Linked DNA regions of Homo sapiens: region 2 is linked to region 1. Evidence: promoter capture Hi-C in 16 types of primary human blood cells and fetal thymus (Javierre and others, 2016). All regions are on one chromosome and are shown on one strand. The core of a region is centred on a gene start or on the middle of the fragment in contact, and the rest is flanking DNA. Distances in the headings are between cores, read along the strand shown.

Region 1 (4,193 bases), core at 1,196-3,695:
AAGGGAATGCTTGTACTTTGTTGGTGGAATGTAAAGTAGTACAGCCATTATGGGAAACCATAGGCTCCTTAAAAAACTAAAAATAGAAGTACCCTATGATCCAGCAATCCCACTGCTGGGTATATATCCAAAAGGAAGGAGATCAGTATATGAAAGAGGCATCTGCACTCCCATGTTTAGTGACACATTATTCACAATAGTCGAGATACAGAATCAACCTAAGTTGAATGGATAAAGAAAACAGATGAATGGATAAAGAAATTGTGGTATATATACACAATGGAATATTATTCAGCCACACAAAAAGAAGAAAATCCTGTCATCTGCAGCAACATGGATGGGACTGGAGGTCATTATCTTAAGTAAAATAAACCAGGCACGGAAAGACAAATATCACATGTTCTCACATGTGAAAGCAAAAAAAGTGGACCTCATGGAGGTAGGGAGTAGAATGGTGGTTAACACAGTCTAGGAAAGGAAAAGGAGAGAAGGAGGGAGGAAGAGAAGTTGATTAATGGGTACAAATATACAGTTAGATAGAAGGAATAAGTTCTAGTGTTCAATAGTACATAAGTGAAACTATAGTTAAAAATAATTTATTGTGTATTTTAAAATAGCTAGAAAAGAACTGAAATGTTTCCAACACAAAGGAAAGATAAATGTTTGAGATGATGGCTATCCCATTTATCCTGATCTGATCCTTATACATTGTATAAGTGTATCAAAATATCAAAATTTTATATCCCCAAAATATGTACAACTATGAACATAAATAAAACAGGCCAGGCTCGGTGGCTCACATCTGTAATCCCAGCACTTGGAGTGGCCAAGGCGGGGGGATTGCTGGAGGCCAGGAGCTCAAGACCAGCCTGGGCAACATGCCGACCCTAGGCATGGTGCCACGCACCTGTAGTCCCAGCTACTCAGGAGGGTGAAGTGGGAGGATCGCCTGAGCCCAGGAGTTGGAGGCTGCAGTGAGCTGTGATCGCACAACTGCACTCCAGACTGGGCGACAGAGTGGGAGACCCTGTCTCAAAACAAAAAACAATGGCTCATATCTATAATCCCAGCACTTTGGAAGACCGAAGCAGGAGGATTGCTTGAGCCCAGGAATTTTGAGACCAGCCTGGGCAACATGGTTAGCTACTGTCTCTAAAATAATAATACTTTAAAAAAATAGAGGCCGGGCACGGTGGCTCACGCCTGTAATCCCAGCACTTTGGGAGGCCGAGGCAGGTGGATCATGAGCTCAGGAGATCGAGACCATCCTGGCCAACATGGTGAAACCCCGTCTCTACTAAAGATACAAAAATTGGTTGGGCGTGGTGGCAAGTGCCTGTAATCCCAGCTACTCGGGAGGCTGAGGCAGGAGAATCGCTTGAACCAGGGAGTTGGAGGGTGCAGTGAGCCGAGATCGTGCCACTGCACTCCAGCCTGGCAACAGAGGGAGACTCCATATGAAAGAAAAGAATTCCTCTTGGCCTACAGTGGGAATGATTAAATAGAGATACTGGCTAAAGTTGATAAAACAGAAGTGGAAAAAGTAGGGAAGGGGCTTTTACTTTCCATACTTTTCTTAAAAGGGTATTTGTTTTTAATACCCTTCTCCGTTGTTTTATGCTAACTCCAACATGCCTTACTAATTAAAAAATTAAAAATTATAAAATTAAACAACCACCTTCAAAGGCTCCCTTGAGTCCAAAAGGTGTTTTGTACATATGGTTCCCATGCTCTTCCACTACCACCCGCCATCCCTCCCACTACTTCACAGACCACCCCTCCACCACATAGGCAGAGTTAAGCTGCTCCTCCAGTCTTGCACTCTCCCCATCTGCAGACTTTTGCACTCCCCTACAGAGCGCTTCCGGCACTCTTGCATTATTTACTGTCTGTCTCTGCCCCTAGGCTGGCAGCAACTGGGAGTAGGAACTTTGGAGCCAATGCCTGGCACAGAGTAACTGCTCAACCAATTCTGATTAATCAACCTCCGGGGTCTACAAAAGGGGGAGTCCCCCGGCGTCCCCCGGTTCAGGCTCCCTCGCCCCGCCGGCCCCGGCCTCCTTACACTCCGAGGTGCGTGTGCGACACGATCTTTCCGCAGGCAATGGTTGCCGGGCCTGGCTCGAAGCCGAGCGCCTGCAGATACATCCAGAGATGCTCCTTCTCGAAAGCGGTGACCGAGGCCGAGCTCATCCTCGCGGTAGGCACGGTGGCTGCAAAGAAAGAAAGCGCAAGCCCAGGGGACTCGGAGGGCCCTCAAGATCCCTCCCTACGGTCAGCCTGAGGTCGCGGTGGTCCTTCCATTGCCAACGCCTGCTCCTTTCACGCCCAGAGCGATTTCGCCTCAAAGGGCCTCACAACCTCCGGGAAATTGAGTTTCTAACGGTATAGTGCGGCCACCACTGCCTCAGCGAAGCCACCACAAACCGAGACTCCCGCCCTTAAGGAAGAGCAGTGTGCGCCGGCGCCGCCAGGCGTCCGAGGGAGGAGGGACTTCCGGCAAAGACTATATCTCCCGCCATGCAATGCGTCCTTCTCTCCTCCCTTCCGGCCATGCCCAGCCAAGAAACTGCAAGACCCACCGGGCATTGCGCGGCCAGCGACTTGCTCTGCGCTTGCTTAACCGCTGTCGTGCCCAGATCCTCGGGCCTTCGGGTTTCTGATTCTTGGTTAGTGGGGTCCATTTGCTTGTGTATCCTAGTTGTTACGTCACAAAAAAGCCATAAATGGAGCACTATGCCTCGGTGTAGAGTTAAAGCATTGGTTCCATCCTCCGCTATGCTCACTGTGACTCTAATCAAGTCACGTAATCTCTGAGCCTCATTTCTGTCGTTAGCGAAATCTATGTCCTCAAATGCCGGATGTTCCTTTTCCTGCTTTAAATGAAATCTGGCTCTATACTCCCCTGCAGTCCTGCAGTCTTTTTTTTTTTTTTTTTTTTTTTTGAGACGGGGTTTCGCTCTTGTTGCTCAAGTTGGGGTGCAGTGACGCGATTTCGGCTCACTGCAACCTCCGCCTCCCGGGTTCAAGCGATTCTCCTGCCTCAGCCTCCCGAGTAGCTGGGATTAACAGGTGTCCGCCACCACGCCCGGCTAATTTTTTTGTATTTTTAATGGAGACGGGGTTTCACCATGTTGGCTGGCTGGTCTCGAACTCCTGACCTCAGGTTATCTGCCGGTCTTGGCCTCCCAAAGTGCTGGGATTACAGGCGTGAGCCACTGCGCCTGGCCGCCTGCAGTCCTCTTAATTTTTTTTTTTTTTTTTTTTTTTTTTTTGAGACGGAGTCTAGCTCTGTCTCCCAGGCTGGAGTGCAGTGGCGCAATCTCGGCTCACTGCAAGCTCCGCCTCCCAGGTTCACGCCATTCTCCTGCCTCAGCCTCCCGAGTAGCTGGGACTACAGGCTCCCACCACCACGCCGGGCTAATTTTTTGTATTTTTAGTAGAGACGGGGTTTCACCCTGTTAGCCAGGATGGTCTCGATCTCCTGACCTCGTGATCCGCCCTCCTCGGCCTCCCGAAGTGCTGGGATTATAGGCGTGAGCCACCGCACCCGGCCCGTCGTCTTAATTGACAGCTGTTGCCTACCACAAACCCCACTGACAACAGGGCCTGGAAGTGGATTGGGTAACCTGCTTTTAAGTCTCATTGCTACCTCTGGCAATGATTGTCTCCTGCCTCACTAAAATCACCTTAATAAAAGAGAGAGAGGCGGGGCACAGTGGCTCACGCCTATAATCCCAGCACTTTGGGAGGCCAAGGTGGGCGGATCACCTGAGGTGGGGAGTTCGAGACCAGCCTGACCAACATGTAGAAACCCCGTCTCTACTAAAAATACAAAATTAGCCGGGCGTGGTAGCGCATGCCTGTAATCCCAGCTCAGCTACTCGGGAGGCTGAGGCAGAAGAATCGCTTGAACCCGGGAGGCAGACGTTGCAGTGAGCCAAGATCCTTCCACTGCATTCCAGCCTGGGCGACAAAGTGAGACTCTGTCTCAAAAAAAAAAAAAAAAAAGAGGAGAGAGAGAGAGAGAAAGAAAGAAAAGCCACTAAGTTGCCCAGGCTGGGCTCGAACTCCTGGGCTCAAGCGACCTGCCCACCTTGACCTCCCAAGGAATGAGCCACCGTGCCCAGCCTAAAAGCACCTTTTGAAGTTTATGCTATCACCCATAGCTTTTCATTATGGAGGTCATCTGT
Region 2 (4,193 bases), core at 1,694-4,193, 3.8 Mb before region 1:
CCATCTCCTACCCAGCTGAAAGGAAACAGGAATAAACTCTACTCCTTCTCCTTAGGGGACAGCACCCCTACCCAGCCACACAAGGAACCCAGAATTATTACTCAATGGCTCCTCCCTCACTGCACCACTGACCCTCAAACTGGGGGACAGGCCACCAAGTCAAGTCCTCTTTCACGTTCTGAGAAATCCTTTAACTCTGGCCTCTTCTGTCCAATGCCACAGCCTCTACTCTACTTCATTACTCATCATCTTCCACACTAACTGTTGCAACAGCCTTTTGTCCTCCTTCTGCCACCTCCACATCCTGGCTTCATCCACTTCACCAGATTTATCTTCCTAAAATCAGCAATCTTACAACAATTGCCTCATCAAAAACCTTCCATGTGGCTGGTTGCAGTGGCTCACGCCTGTAATCCCAGCACTTTGGGAGGCCAAGGCAGGTGGATCACCTGAGGTCAGGAGTTCGAAAGCAGCCTGGCCAACATGGCGAAACCCCGTCTCTACTAAAAATACAAAAATTAGCTGGGCGTGGTAGCAGGCACCTGTAATCCCAGCTACTCGGAACGCTGAGGCAGGAGAATCGGTTGAACCCAGGCTGTGGGGGCAGAGGTTGCAGTGAGCCGAGATCCCACTACTTCACTCCAGCCTGGGTGAAAGAGTAAAACTCCGTCTCAAAAAAAAAAAAAAAAAAAAAAAAAAACCTTCCAGGTTCCCATTTTTTAGGAGATACAACCCAAATTCCTTAGCGTGACATTCAGGACACAATGACTCACGACCCAAGTCAGCCTTTTTGGTTTCTGCCCTTGACACTCTCCTTCCCACTGTACCAAGTGCTCTCTTATTCCCGCCCATCTCAACTTCCCCCAAGGCCTTCCCACTGGGGAGCCCAACACAATCCCACTTGCCCTTTGAAACCTAGTTCAAATACCATCTCTCCTTTCAAGTCTTTGCCGGACCCTAAACAAGGGAAGCCAATCATCCCTGTTTGTACCTGTTGTCTTAGTGCAATTACTGAAAGCGCTCATTTACTCAGAGTGCCCTGCTTTGAATGATAAATTATATGACCTTCCTACCTAAAACCTACCCTAACCCAAAGATAGAAATAGTACAGTGACTTGTGTTAAGTGTTTTGCTTGACGTTGTGCTCCTCAAGGGTAATAACTGTCTTGTTTTAGTGTGTACATCCAGCATTTAAAGACTGTTAGGACCTGCCAGGCGTTCAATGAACGTTGGTGGAATGAAAGAATAAATCTCAGCTGGGAGCAGTGGCTCACGCCTATAATCCCAGCACTTTGGAAAGCCCAGGTGGGCGAATCACCTTTAGTCAGGAGTTTGAGACCAGCCTGACCAACATGGAGAAACCCCGTCTCTATTAAAAATACAAAAAATTGGATGGTCGTGGTGGTGCATGCCTGTAACCCCAGCTACTCGGGAGACTGAGGCAGGAGAATCACTTGAACCCGGGAGGCAGAGGTTGCCGTGAGCTGAGATCGTGCCACTGCACTCCAGCCTGGGCAACAGAGAGAGAGTCCATCTCAAAAAAAAAAAAAGAAGAAGAAAAGAAAGAAAATTGTGGTAATGAATTTTATCAAAACTTCATCTAAACTTCCAAAGAGAAATTAGCCAAATCAGAATTAGATCTAAAAATTCCTGGGCCAAAAAGCAGGCGGTAAAAACATGTCACATAAGCCATTTATTTCCTAGTCAGTGTCTTAATTTTTTTCATTATCAACCCTCAAAGGAGCCTAAGTATAAAGCTTACTTTTTTAATTCAATAACAGGATCAGAATGACTCAATAAATATTTTAAAAGTTAAGTGTAAGGTTGGGCACGGTGGCTCACGCCTGTAATCCCAGCACATTGGGAGGCCAAGGCGGGTGGATCACTTGGGGTCAGGAGTTTGAGACCAGCCTGGCCAACATGGTGAAACCCCATCTCTACTGAAAAAAATACAAAAATTAGCTGGATGTGGTGGTGGGCGCCTGCAATTCCAGCTTCTCCGGAGGCTGAGGCAGGAGAATCACTTGAGCCCGGGAGGCAGACGTTACAGTGAGCCAAGATCATGCCACTGCACTCCAGCTTGGGTGACCAAGCAAGACTCTGTCTTTAAAAAAAAGGCCGGGCGCGGTGGCTCACGCCTGTAATCCCAGCACTTTGGGAGGTCGAGGTGGGTGGATCACAAGGTCAGGAGTTCGAGACCAGCCTGGCCAATATGGTGAAACCTCGTCTCTACTAAAAATACAAAAAAATTAGCCGGGTGTGGTGGCACATGCATCACGCCACTGCACTCCAATCTGGGTGACAAAGCGAGATTCCGTCTCAAAAAAAAAAAAAAAAAAAAAAAAGCCGGTGCAGTGGCTCACACCTGTAATCCCAGCACTTTGAGAGGCCGAGGTAGGTGGATCACCTGAGGTCAGGAGTTCGAGACCGGCCTGGCCAACGTGCTGAAACTCTGTTTCTACTAAAAATACAAAAATTAGCTGGGCATGGTGTTGGGCGCCTGTAATCCAAGCTACTCGGGAGGCTGAGGCAGGAGAATCGCTTGAACCCGGGAGGCGGAGGTTGCAGTGAGCCGAGATCATGCCATTGCACTCCAGCCTGGATGACAAGAGCAAAACTCCATCCCCCACCAAAAAAAGAAAAAAATGTTTAAAAAGCTATGAACATTTGGCCGGGCGCAGTGGCTCATGCCTGTAATCCCAGCACTTTGGGAGGCTGAGGCGGCCGGATCACGAGGTCAAGAGATCGAGACCATCCTGGCCAACATGGTGAAACCCCGTCTCTACTAAAAATACAAAAATTAGCTGGACGTGGTGGCACGCACATGTAGTCCCAGCTACTTGGGAGGCTGAAGCAGCAGAATCGCTTGAACCCAGGAGGCAGAGGTTGCAGTGAGCCGAGATTGTGCCACTGCACTCCAGCCTGGGCAACAGAGGGAGACTCCAACTCAAAAAAAAAATCTATGAACATTTAACTTTATAACTGTATTTGCTGAGTGACTTTTAATATAATGTTAAATATAATGCATCAAATTATATATACAAATTATCAATTTCTATACCTACATAATAGCAATGTAATCAACTTTTCAAAAAACATTCAAAACTGTTATTTTCCAGCAAAAGTAAAACTATTGAAAAAATCATTTTCTGAAAAGTGATTTTTTTTTTTTTTTTGAAACGGGGTCTGTCACCCAGGCTGGAGTGCAGTGGCATGATCAGAGTTCACTGCAGCCTCAACCTCCTAGGCTCAAGTGATCCTCCCACCTCAGCCTCCAGAATAACTTAGGACTACAGGCGGGCACCACCATGCCCAGCTAACTATTCATATTTTTATTTTTGTAGAGACAGGGTCTCACTGCGTTACGCAGGTTGAAAAGTGATTTTTAGTGAACTTTTGTTTCATATGAGAAAAATTTTTTTTTTTTTTCTGAGATGGAGTTTTACTCTTGTTGCCCCCGCTGGAGTACAATGGTGCGATCTCAGCTCATGCAACCTCTGCCTCCCAGGTTCAAGCGATTCTCCTGCCTCAGCCTCCCAAGTAGCTGAGATTACAGGTGCCCGCCACCACGCCCAGCTAATTTTTTTGTTATTTTTAGTAGAGACTGGGTGTCACCATGTTGGTCAGGCTGGTCTCGAACTCCTGACCTCAGGTGATCCACCCGCCTCAGCCTCCCAAAGTGATGGGATTACAGGCATGAGCCACCACACCTGGCCTCATATGAGAAAATTTTTAACTTAATTAGCTGCTAGATATTAATTCAAATACTGTCAATGTTTTCCTTTTTGGCACTTGAGATAATTATTGGTGAGCTGAATAATCTTAATTGAATTAAATAATAAAATATAAATGATTTTCATTCAATTCTCAAATCCTTATATTTGAGGGCCAAATATAAGCAAGCCACAAGGCACCCAATGGTAGCCCATAAGTATGTGAAGGTAACCAACTAAAATGACTTCAAGATCAGGCAACTAGAGAGAAAGTCTTCCAACCACAGCCATCTCTACGTTATAAATTTGTTGGATTGACCTTGAATATATTCTGTACATCTTCCATGAATCCATTATCAATGTTGCTAGTGTAATACACAAGAAAACCCAATGAGAGAAATTCAAATATTAAGAAACAAGCTTTTGTTGATTGAGCTTTAAATGGCCACACACCATTATAATATCTAAGATGCTTGTGCT

Evidence for each region. The method cuts DNA at HindIII sites, captures the fragments that hold promoters and counts their contacts. A CHiCAGO score of 5 or more calls a contact.
Region 2: a contact is called between a fragment that was not itself captured here and the fragment with the promoter of HAUS6 in region 1, in 1 of 17 cell types (M1 macrophages). The highest score is 7.4, in M1 macrophages.

The regions. Positions count from the first base shown.
Region 1 is chr9:19,100,459-19,104,651 of GRCh38, forward strand. It overlaps HAUS6 (HAUS augmin like complex subunit 6), which reads right to left and starts at 2,446. Exons shown (of 17, transcript NM_017645.5): 1 at 2,066-2,446. The coding sequence starts at 2,193. RefSeq lists an enhancer at 2,125-2,688. The HindIII fragment of the contact is 8,228 bases long and covers 1-4,193 here.
Region 2 is chr9:15,300,219-15,304,411 of GRCh38, forward strand. All of the region lies in intron 1 of TTC39B (tetratricopeptide repeat domain 39B), which reads right to left. Among named protein-coding and RNA genes, the nearest start is that of TTC39B, 4.9 kb to the right of the region's middle. The HindIII fragment of the contact is 2,376 bases long and covers 1,756-4,131 here.